Regions from separate parts of the Homo sapiens genome. Here regions 1 and 2 are each linked to region 3. The links are contacts of gene promoters, found by promoter capture Hi-C in human tissues and cell types (Jung and others, 2019). All regions are on one chromosome and are shown on one strand. Each heading gives the region's core, a stretch centred on a gene start or on the middle of the fragment in contact. The rest is flanking DNA. Distances are from core to core; before and after follow the strand shown. Region 1 holds the start of RPS6KA1 (ribosomal protein S6 kinase A1). Region 2 holds the start of FAM76A (family with sequence similarity 76 member A). Region 3 overlaps SLC9A1 (solute carrier family 9 member A1).

The links. Contacts are between HindIII fragments. The study calls those that stand out against the background at their distance.
Region 1: a contact is called between the fragment with the promoter of RPS6KA1 here and a fragment that was not itself captured in region 3, in 1 of the 25 tissues and cell types used here (aorta).
Region 2: the fragment with the promoter of FAM76A here is called in contact with a fragment that was not itself captured in region 3 in 1 of the 25 tissues and cell types used here (liver).

The regions. Positions count from the first base shown.
Region 1 is chr1:26,527,044-26,531,239 of GRCh38, forward strand. It overlaps RPS6KA1 (ribosomal protein S6 kinase A1), which reads left to right and starts at 2,718. Exons shown (of 22, transcript NM_002953.4): 1 at 2,718-2,940. The coding sequence starts at 2,878. LOC124903884 (a long non-coding RNA gene) reads right to left here. Exons shown (of 2, transcript XR_007065558.1): 1 at 4,155-4,196; 2 at 2,077-3,518. RefSeq lists a silencer at 2,603-3,082 and an enhancer at 3,324-4,196. The HindIII fragment of the contact is 11,905 bases long and covers 1-4,196 here.
Region 2 is chr1:27,724,625-27,728,451 of GRCh38, forward strand. FAM76A (family with sequence similarity 76 member A) reads left to right here and starts at 1,337. Exons shown (of 9, transcript NM_152660.3): 1 at 1,337-1,537; 2 at 2,848-2,912. The coding sequence starts at 1,457. RefSeq lists silencers at 681-1,323, 1,162-1,861. The HindIII fragment of the contact is 12,090 bases long and covers 1-3,827 here.
Region 3 is chr1:27,139,901-27,143,604 of GRCh38, forward strand. The region is part of intron 1 of SLC9A1 (solute carrier family 9 member A1); the gene reads right to left. Among named protein-coding and RNA genes, the nearest start is that of SLC9A1, 13 kb to the right of the region's middle. RefSeq lists a silencer at 2,793-2,852. The HindIII fragment of the contact is 4,148 bases long and covers 1-3,704 here.

The sequences.
Region 1 (4,196 bases), core at 1,468-3,967, 610 kb before region 3:
TGTGGTGGCACATGCCTATAGTCCCAGCTACTTGGGAGGCTGAGCAGGAGAATCATTTGAACCCGGGAGGCGGAGGTTGCAGTGAGCCGAGATCAGGCTACTGAACTGCACTCCAGCCTGGGCGACAGAGTGAGACTCCATCTCAAAATAATAATAATAATAATAAAAAGAAGGCTTGGCTTACAATACATGCTCAGAAAGAGGGTCTAGTGTGTAATATATAGCCATAAATAAGCCAGGTGTGGTGGCTGTAATTCCAGCATTTTGGGAGGCTGGAGGATCGCTTGAGGCCAGGAGTTTAAGACCAGCCTGGGCAAGATAGTGAAACCCCATCTCTACAAAAACAAAACATATAAAAAATTAGCTGGGGACCTGGCACAGTGGCTCACGCCTATAATCCCAGCACTTTGGGAGGCCAAGATGGGCAGACCATGAGGTCAGGAGATTGAGACCATCCCAGCTAATACAGTGAAACCCCGTCTCTACTGAAAATACACAACGTTAACCAAGCGTGGTGGCACGCACCTGTAGTCCCAGCTACTCAGGAGGCTGAGGCAGGAGAATTGCTTGAACCTGGGAGGTGGAGGTTGCAGTGAGCTGAGATTGAGCCACTGCACTCCAGCCTGTTGACAGAGCAAGACTCTGTCTCAAAAGAAAAGAAAAAAAATTAGCTGGGCATGGTGGCACACACCTGAAGTGCCAGCTACTTGTGGGAGGTGGGAGGATCGCCTGAGCCCAGAAGTTCAAGGCTGCAGTGAACTACGATTTTACCACTGCACTGCAGCCTAGGCAACAGAGCGAGACTCCGTCTCTAAAAAACAAATAAAAAATATATAGCTGTAAATTTATTGAATTAAAATGAATCTTGTCCTATATACCTGAAAGATTGAGATTATAATTCCCATTTTACAGATGGAGAAATTGAGGTTTAGAGGCATAAAATGAGTTTCCCTGTGTTAAGAAGGTAGCAGAGCTGGAATTCAAACCCAGAATTGTTGGGTTCCAAAGTCCTTTCACTCAAAATTCAGTTCAACAGCTGAGGTCCTACCCTGGGAAAGCCATGGAAAAGGGGGAGCACGTGGATTCTGGAGAAATCCTTATCCACTTTGATTTTTTTTTTTTTGAGATGGAGTCTCTGTCGCCCAGGCTGGAGTGCAGTGGGGGCTATCTCCGCTTACTGCAAGCTCCGCCTCCCGGGTTCACACCATTCTCCTGCCTAAGCCTCCCGAGTAGCTGGGACTACAGGTGCCTGCCACCACGCCCTACTAATTTTTTGTATTTTTAGTAGAGACAGGGTTTCATCATGTTAGCCAGGATGGTTTCAATCTCCTGACCTCGTGATCCGCCCGCCTCGGCCTCCCAGTGCTGGGATTACAGGTGTGACACTTTGATTTTTTTAAGCCCTAGTCTGTTCTCAACCTCTTGTGTGACCTTGGGTAAGTCACTTCATCTTTCCGAGCTTGTTTCAGGATTTGTAAACTAGGTGGTGGTAATCATTCAAGGAAATCACATGGCTCGCAGGAAGCTTTTGATAAACATTCCTTCCCATTCCCCTGCCTTAGAACAGCTTTGCAAATAACTGACCAGTCTTCCTGCGAAACCAGCAAGCTTGTCCCTCCAGCAAGCTCACTCCTCACATGTGAATACATCTCAGCACACCCGGACCCCTAAGGCTCTTTAGGTGGAGGCTGAATCTCTCTGGGGCAACCAGTCTCCCTGGCCTTTCACTCCAAGTCCCACCAAGCCTCGGTTCATCCTGGGAGCCTGGTCCCTCCTCAGAGAGTCGCAAACCCAAACTAGTCCAGAGCTGGGGCTGCAGGTGACTCCAGGGAGACCTGACCTGAAAGGACCCCCTTCAAGTGATAGGGCAGAGCACAGATTGCAAAAACGCATATTAAGAAATCACTCTTGGCCGGGCGCGGTGGCTCATGCCTGTAATCCCAGCACTTTGGGAGGCCGAGGCAGGAGGATCACTTGAGCCGGGGAGTCAGAGACCAGCCTAGGTAACAAAGCGAAACTTCGTGTCTCTCTCTCTCTCACTATATACACACATACATACATATATGTGCATATATATAATATTTATTTATACATATTTATTTATATATGTAATATTTATATACATTATGTAAAATCAATCGATCAATCAATCACTCTGTGGTGGCACTATGGGTCCTGATGGTGGTAACAACTGCTGATGCCCATCTTGGCCTGGGGCACTGAGATCGCCCGGAGATCACAGTGTTAGCTTCAGGGCGGGGTAGAAATTAGAGGATAGGGGATCTCTAGGGCCTGGTGAGTTGAGGGCCTAAGGGGAGTGGGTCTCAGGCTCCTTCCAAGCCTCAGCCTAGATCAGGCCCAGGAACCCAGTGTGAATGTGTGTGCTGGGGTCGGGGATAAGGTGCTTCTCTCCCGTTGGAAGGAGAAGGAACATCTGGGCTGGGATTCCAAAAGAGCTGAGCGGGGGAGAACGGTGGCCCTGGTGTGGTGTGTCCAGGGGTACACCACTGGAAGGGAAGGAGCCAGCAGGGCCTCTCCGGCGGAGCCGAGCGCGGGCCGGGGGCTCGCGGCAGGGGCGGGGCCGGCCCTCGGGGCGCGGCGGGGGCGGGGGTCCGCGCTGGGAATGCCGCGCCGCGGGGGCTGGGGCGGGGCTTCTCCGGCTCCGCCCCCGCGCAGGTAGCCAATGGGCGCGGCGGCGCCGGGTGACGGAGGGAGCCGAAGTGCTAGTGCCGCGGCGGCGGCGGCGGACGGCCCAGCCGGAGCGCGAGGGGCTCGGGGGGGCGCGGCGGTTCGGGTCGCAGAGCCAGGGACCCCAGGACCCGGGAGGCGGCGCAGCCGGGGCCGCCGGAGGAGCGCGGGTGACCTGGCGGCGGCGAGATGCCGCTCGCCCAGCTCAAGGAGCCCTGGCCGCTCATGGAGCTAGTGCCTCTGGACCCGGAGGTGAGTGAGCGGGGCGGGGGACGGGCGCCCGCGGCCGGCGAGCCCGGATCCTCACAGGGGCGGGGCGGCCCGAAGCGCCGCTGCAGTCCGGCGGGCGCCCGCGAGGGCGCGAGTGCCCTCCGATCTCTTGCCCACTGTCCGGCTCCACCCCCCTATGCCCGGGTGTGCGTGTGCGAGGGACAGTTCCGCCAAGCGCCGACTACCTCCCCGCCATAGCCAGGAGAGGGGATCCTATGGGGCGCTGAGATCTGGTCGCCTTCACCCCACACCTAGGACCCGTCCCGGCATCTGTCCAGAGCTGTCGGAGCTTCCTCCATTAATGCAGACGGGGAGATCTTCAGTGCCAGATGTCTGGGATTCTACCAGAGACAGGGGTTATGGGACCCCCACTTCTCCCAGGGCCCTCCGCCAAGAGCTCCCTGCTTCTGGCTTCACCGCTGCTGAGCCTAGAAGGATTGCTCCTCTTGACCCCTGGCGGATGCGGAGTGTGGGATGGCACCACCCGTCTGGGGCTGGAACTCCTGGTTTTCTTTGCCCTGAGGCTAGGGCCAGAGGACACCTGTGTGCCCTACCCCAGGCTGTGGAGACGAGAGTGGGGAAGAGCCCTTAGACCTTGTGAAGATGATTCCTGGCAGGGCGTGGGGGGACCTTGGTGCCTGCCTCCCTTCTTATGCCCCTTCCGGTAGGAAGGGCTGGGCCCTTGGGGAGTTTGGCTTCTGCCAGCCCAGACTCCCCAGACAACCCAGCTCCTTCTCTCTCAGAAGCAGCTCCTGACCTCCCTTGAGGGCTCTGTGGCTCCAGTCCCTAAGCGTGCAGAAGGCCACCTCTTCCTGTGCCTTTTGACCCCAGGGTCAAGGTCAAGCCCCTGAATGAGCTGGTGGAAAACTTCCTCCTTAACCTCTTGCTGGGAAGGAAGCAGGTGATATTCTCCTTCCCAGGTGGTTGTTGGGGGTATGCAGGGAGGGAATGGAGACCTCATTTGAGCCCAGGAGCTGAGATGACTTTCTCCCAGCTTGGGCCTGGAGCCCCTGTCTCAGTCCCCTCCTCTGCCCTCTCTTACCTAGGGCAGCCACCAAGTGTCCTGCCTCTCAGGACCACAGGCTTAGATCAGGGTGAGCACCCAGGGTCCCCAGCCCCCAGGGTGTGCTGCCCCTTTAAAGGGATGGCCGACACTGGCTATTGGAGGGTGGGCGCGGCAGGATTAGGTAACCAACCTGAAGGAGCAATTTGGAGTAAATTGCTCTGGGATTCCTGCC
Region 2 (3,827 bases), core at 87-2,586, 580 kb after region 3:
ATCCCGCCCCGACTCATGTACTGGTTTTGATTCTCACAATGACCTCATTGTACAATTGAGAAAAACGAGGCCGTGAGAAGTTCAGTGATAGATCCAAGGTCATGTAGTTAGTTGTGGAACAGTGATTTGGAAACTTTGCTTTCTGATCCTAATGATTAATGCACATCTTTGGGGGATCCTACAAGGAAGCAGCCAGATTTGGGTTCAGAGAGAGTAAATTTTTTTTGTTGAGGCAGGGAAATAGAAGCCATTAAGTCAGTTTTTAATTGTAAAAAGCGCACGTTGAGGTAAAACTGCAATTAGTCCTGTACGGGTGGTTGGCAGAGCCAAGAGTAACCTATGCCCAAGAGCAGCTACAAGGCAGGACTTGGATAGGTCAGCAGTGCAGGAAGCTTTGCCAACACCTCAAGAACAAGAAGTCTGTCATTCCTTGGGCAGCTCCTATACATGCCAAGCTGGAGCCAAAGAGAGGCAGGGGAGCCCGGAGGGCGTGGCTTGCCTTCCGGAAGTCAGGCCTCGTCAGGAATCACCAGGTGGTTGCTTGCGAGAGAAGCTGGGGGTGAAACCGGAGAAAACAAAGTAGGAAGCAGGTCTGGGCCAATTGCAGCCCACTCTGATGGGGGCCTGCAGGCCACCGGACGCCTGAATATCTGTCCAATCCCTCCTGGAAGGACTGCCATCTCTTTAGTCCCTCTTCCGCAGCATAGGGGTGCTCTCTCTGGGGCTCTCCTTTTCTCTCCTAAGGCCCACAGCCCCACAGTTCCCTATTTAGGTGTCTTAAATTGAGGACACACTTCTAAATTGTCCCTCAGAGTCTCGTCTCCTCCTTTGAGCGAGGCTGGGCGGGCTCCTCCTGCTCCGATTATGAGGAACTTCTTTCCCAAGCTCCCCACCTTCTTTGGGCTTGGACGGCTGCAGAGTTCCAGTTAACTGTGCGCCGCCTTCGTTCCAATTGTACCCCTCGTGCTCCCAGAGGGCAGCTCCATGGAAACCAAAACATCACAAATCCCCGAAGGTATCGCGAGAAGCGCAGATGCGCCTGAGGCCGTGGAGAGGCGGAGCGAGGGCGGGAACGCTGAGCAAGTAGGGCGGAGCCTAAGCTCTTCCGAGGTCCCGGCCGGGAGCCTGTCCCCTCCAGGTGGCGCCCCCGCGTGACTGCGCTTTACATAATCGCGGCCTGGAGCGTCACAGTGGCGTACTCCAGGCCAGACCGAATCAGAGTGGGCGAAAGCTCCGTGTTCCGCCCCTTCCCACTTGATCGACGTCAAAGCCCACCAGTGAGCGGGCGTCTAGAGTCGCCGTGCCCGCCCCAGCCCGCCCGGGTCCGCCCCGACCCGCCTGCGCCCGCCCGCCTGCCGCAGCCAGCAGCCTGCAGCCGCCGCCGGGTTGTGCCTCAGACTGTCAGATAAATCGGCGGGCCGGGCCGGCGGGTCGGTGAGCGCGGCCCGGGCCGGACATGGCGGCGCTCTACGCCTGCACCAAGTGCCACCAGCGCTTCCCCTTCGAGGCGCTGTCTCAGGGGCAGCAGCTGTGCAAGGTGCGCGGGCTGGGGCGGCGGCCGGGAACTGGGGACGCAGGAGGCGCGGCCCGGAGCTCCAGATTCTGTGGGGACGCCCGGCGGGGTCCCCGGAGCAGGGTGTGGCAGGCCCGCCAGGCTGAGGAGCCGCACCCACCCCGCTGGGGGCCGGCGGGGCACGTGCGGGAGCCGGGACCCGGTCCAGGCTCCCGCGGCCGGCGTGTCCGGGTGCTTAGCAACCGTGGGGATTGTTCTCGGACCCCGTGAGGTCGGGGGAGGGACAGCGGGTCCCCTGCTTGCCCTGACTGGTCGCCTTCGGGATCCCTTTGCGCTGCCTCCCCCGCCGCCGCGGTCTCCCTGGTGGGGACCTCCTGCCCCTCCTGGGACTGAACTCCAAAGTTGGGTGCTGCCTTGGAGGAATGTGTCGAACTCGGGCTCCTCACGGGCACTTTTCGACCAGTTTCAGAATCGGAGGTAGCAAGGCTTGATTTTTTTTTTTTTTTTAAGCATCTCACTTTTCGGCCAGTCTCAGAATCGGAGGCAGCAAGGCTTTATGTTTTAAAAAAGCCCCACAGTCAGGCTCACAGATCCGAGGGATCACTTCTCAGCATCCAGTTGGTGGTCTTCGGTCTTCCCTGACTAGCTGCTGATCAGTTTTTGCTCCTGAAGGTCCAACTTCTCTTTTTCTTTTAAGTTGCTTTATCCCACTTTTACTTTTTAAGTGACTAGAGGTGCTGTGAGGCAACAGTTAAAAAGTCACCAAACTGGCTGAAGAATAATGTTGAGGTTATCCAATAATCCAGTTTGTGTCTCTGATTTGGATAACTCATAATTGTCACTTTTGCCTCAGATGGTCATGACTTTCCATTTGCCAGTTTTTATATACCAGGTCTGGGGGAATGCAAGTGCTTGAGTGCCCTTTTTGGCCTCAAAATATGTATATATGATTTTAAGGAAGTTATGTATATATAAATAATAATTTTAATCCAGCACTTTCATTTCACAAGTAAACCGCAAAATCACACAGTGGCAGAAGAACCAGGCCTGGAATTCAGGGCTTCTGATTCCCAGTCTGGGACTTGTTCATATATATGTTTGTTTTACAATTTATGGCTAGTTCCATATAATCCATATAAGTTCTTACTTAACTCCCACATCAACAGTAGGGAAGTGATGCCAGTATTACAGAGGAGAAAAATAAGGCCCAGAAAGTTTAAGTGACTCACTCAAGCATAGTAGCTATGCTAGAAATAGTACCCAGGTCGGCTTCCTACTGAAGGCTGTTTCCATTTGTGACTGCCTTTTAAAATTATATCCTCATTTCATTTCAGGAATGTCGGATTGCACACCCTGTTGTGAAGTGCACCTACTGCAGGACTGAGTACCAGCAGGAGAGGTAGAGTTTTGTTGACCATGAAAGATATTAATAGGCTTTTTTCCTCTTAAAATCTGTAATTGATTGCATTTCATGTACAGATGCTATAATCAGTTGCATTGTAAAATACAGATCTGTAATCAATCACATTATATACAGACTATAATTGCTAAATATTTAGGTCTATGATCCATCTTGAGTTAATTCATGTGTGGGGTGAGATATACAATGAAGGGTATATAATACATGTATTGTTTCCTAGTTATTATCCATTGATTGCTTAAATTTTTTTTTTTTTTTTTTTTTTTTTGAGATGGAGTCTCACTCTGTCACCCAGGCTGGAATGAAGTGGTATGATCTCAGCTCACTGCAACCCTTCCCTCCCAGGTTCAAGCGATTCTTATGCCTCAGCCTCCCAAGTAGCTGAGATTACAGGTGCCTGCCACCATGTCCGGCTAGTTTTTTTGTATTTTTAGTAGACGGGGTTTCACCATCTTGGCCAGGTTGGTCTTGAACTCCTGACCTCGTGATCCACCCGCCTCAGCCTCACAAAGTGCTGGGATTACAGGCGTGAGCCACCACGCCCAGCCTGCTTAAATTTTTAAAGTTCTTTTTAAGACCCTTGATCATTTTATATTGTGATTATAATCTTTTTGTCAAGAAGAAACCAATCCCACAACAGTAAAACATGAGCCTCATGTTTCAATATGTACATACACAGAGATTGAAGAATTTATAAGCCCAAAGAAGATACTTTTGGAAATGTGACAATCCTGATAAGAGTTTGCTAGCTCTAGTCACATTTGAAACTCACTTGCCATTACACTTTCCTTGGGCAAATCTCTTTTTTTGTTTGAAACAGAGTCTCTCTCTCCCAGTCAGGTTGGGGTGCAGTGGAGCCGTCATGGCTCACTGCAGCCTGGACCTCCCGGGCCC
Region 3 (3,704 bases), core at 565-3,064:
TCCTGTCTCAACCTCCCAAGTAGCTGGGATTAGAGACTTGCACCATCACACCTGGCTAATTTTTGTATTTTTAGTAGAGATGAGCTTTCACCATGTTGACCAGGCTGGTCTGGAACTCCTGACCTCAAGTGATCCGCCCATCTCAGCCTCCCAAAGTGCCGGGATTACAGGTGTGAGCCACCGCACCTGGCCAAAACACTCATTCTTAACCTTCAGGACCCAGCTCAAAGCTCTGGGAAGCCTTTCCTGACCCACCCACCTCCACTCCTCCCTCCCGCACACCCACAGCTCTGCAGGCTCCTGCTGCAGCACTTCACAGCACATCACAAGTGCCTGTTTACATGCCAGCCTCTCCCTTGAGGCTGGGATTATATTTATCCATCTTTCCATCTTCAGTACAGTATTTATCAGCACGAATCCATTTGCTGAACATGTGTCTCCCCACCTCCCAACTAAAGAACGAGCTCAGACAATTCAGCTAATGGTCTCATTTGCACCCCTAACCTCAGTACTCAGCTCACCCCAATGCCCTCCAGTCCATATACCTAAAACCATCCTCCAGTGCTTGACCCCACCCTCACCTCTTCCTTTAAGGCTCCAGGAATAGTAGCAACTCCCATTAGTGAGCACTTACAATGTGCTCAGGGCTTTACAGACATCACCCCCCTTTAGACTGGGGAAACTGAGGCTCAGACAGGGTGATGTAGCTTAAAAAGGGCACACCTTTTCCCCTTAATACTGGCATCACTCACCTAGCACTTATCATAGCTGGGACTATTTTTAAAACCATCATCTGTTCTGCAAAATTGAGTGCTTTTATAGCTACACATCAAGTTGTCATACAAAATCACCCTTTGCTCATTAAATGTTTCAGACGATCAGTCTTGCTACTCCAGCTAGGTGGGGTAACATAACATAAATGTTATGTAGGAGAAATGGCACAGGACTTGGAAGGGGAAGTCCTGGAGTCCAGCTTCAGCTCTGCCACAGTCAGGCTATATGACACCAGGCGGGTCACCTCCACAGCCCAGGCACGGCAGCTCACGCCTGTAATCCCAGCAATTTGGGAGGACAAGCTGGGGGGATCACTTGAGGTCAGGGGTTCAAAACCAGCCTGGCCAACATGACAAAACCCCATCTCTACTAAAAATACAAAAATTAGCCAGGCGTGGTGGCACAAGCCTGTAATCCCAGCTACTCGGGAGGCAGGAGAATCGCTTGAAGCAGGGAGGCAGAGGTTGCAGTGAGCCAAGATTGTGCCACTGTACTCCAGTTTGGGTGACAGAGAGAATCTCCATCTCAAAATAAAAAATTAAAAAAAATTTTTTTAAAACAGGATAAGTGACTTGCCCAAGGTCACGGTGCTACAAAGTAGTAGAGCTGAGATTTGAACCCAGGTCTGTCAAGCTGCAAAGCTTGTTTTTCTAACCACCATGCCTGTGGGCATGTTTCCAAAGGGAACTGCTCTGGGACATTCTTCTGCAATCCAGAGGTTCTGCCCCAAGTAGAAGCTTCTGGCTGTGCCCAGTGAGATTTCATTCAAGTATCTCATCTAAATCCTACATATACTTCAAGGCCTAGCTCAGTGGTCACTTGCACAGCCTACTGGGATCTTCCCAGGTACGAAATTCTCTCTCCCACCTCTAAACTCCCGTAGAATTCCATCTGCACTTCAAATCACACCCCCTTTCTACTGTCTGACTGTTTTGCATCTGTACCGCATTTCTCAAACAAGTCGTTGAGCTTGGTAAAAGAAGCAGTTCTCATGCATCTCTGCACCTTCCACCAGCCAGGCAGGCAGTGCTCAGTCAGGGAAGCGGGTGGGGTAGGGTGCCTGCTCCCCTCCCCCATCTTGCTGTAACCTGAGTCTTAGGCTTTGCCCAGTTAGGTGAGTTGGCCCCGCCTCATGCTGGCATAACGCCTACCTGGTACAGCATCCAGATTCCTGTGGGTCCTGGCCACCGGGGAGATAAGATCTTATTCCCTGGCTTGATGGCAAAGATGCTATAAAAAGCACAGCACCCAAGTTCAACATTGGCTTGTGATGGACTACACGACCTGAGGGATTCAATGGGTGAAGGCAGAAGCCTCTGGGCTGTCTCAGAGGTCCCAAGACCTGTACTTGGCTCCCCTGTAAGGACCAGTGTAAGGACCAATGGTTTCTCTGCCAAGGACAGCTCCCTAATAGATACCCCAGGAGGAAGCTGCCCTTCTTTAGGCTTAAAGGGCCCACTGGAAGAACTGAGGTTTGCCAATGCTACCAATATCCAAGCCAAAAACCACAGCCCCTCCTCTCGGTCCACTGTCCAGGTCTTACTGCCTAGGGACTCCTGAGTTAGTTAACAGAGCAGGGAAGAAGACTGACTCTGCCATTAATTCACGAGTGGCCTGGGGCCAATCCTCTCTGGGCCTCAACTGGAAAAACAGAGAACTTGATCAAAACATCTCCATTTCCCTTTGGGCCTGGGGGTTACAAGCTATGATAAGGATTTTTCCATCTCTAACATTCTAGAATTAGAATATTCTATACTTTCATTCCTAGAAGCAGAGTGAGAACAGAGAACAGGGACCTTCAGTCCAGGAAACAGCAGAGGCCAGTCAGGGCTTCCTAGCTGCATCCTCAAAGCCTGTCCACCTTCAGAGGCTTTCTCTTGCGTCTGCTGCCTCAAAGGTGGTTGCTTCCCCACTAGCAGAGCCTCAGAGGTGTGCCTGGGCCCTAGCCGCTTTAGGGAAATGGGCAGGTGGCCTGAGTCACCTACTGTGTGTGAGCTGGGCTCACCATGGCAACCCAGCAGACCCAGAGGGCATAAAGAAGCCAGTACCTTCCCTGCTGCACAGTGTAGGCGGAGCATGTTGCATCTGCTTTGATTTCCAACTTAGAAAAGTTTTTCTCTACTTTAAGGACTCATTTCCCCTTCCCTTCTCTCAGGACACAGCTTACTCACTCTGGGGTCCTTCTCCTTGCCTGGAAGGTATTCTGCAGTCCCACAGGCAAACCCCACTCATCCCAGAATTAAGTACCACCTCCTCCAAGGATTCATCCCAGACCAGTTAGTCCTCTACCCTTCTTCAAGTTCCCACCACACAAAAGGCAGAAGCTCTTAACCTTCAGAATCTGTGGCTTACACACTGACAATCAACTGTGTAAAAAAAAAAAAAAAAAAAAAAAATCTGAGTCTATCATGGGCCTTCTCCCTTGATAAAATCACATATATACAACTGTCTGCAGACTATTTTGGGAGCTCCACAAACTTTATCATGGACTCAGAAACAATCTTAGAAACCTAGATCCTAGAACAACAGATCATCCAGTCCATCCTCTCACCTACACCAGAATCCCTTAGCAACCCCTCCTGAATGATGTTCCTCTTCTACCCCTGGCCCACCTCTCAAGGCCGCCTCCTTCAAGAAGCTTCCCTCATCTCTCCTCTCCTCTGATTCCCCCAAGCATCCAGCCTGAACCACACAATTTCCCACCTGTGCTTTCTCCCTTGTATGTTGTCTCACTTCCCCAGCAAGAAAGCTGACTCCCTGTGGGCTCATTTCTTCAACCTTGTAACCCTCAGCTGGACTTAGAGATGACCGTGATCTGTACTTGTACAAAGCCCTGTGCTTTGAAGCCAGGGCTCAATGACAGCACTGGCCCACTCCCAAAGGATAGAGCTGTGGAATTCCCCATCTGAGGGCCTCACAGTCTGCTTAGG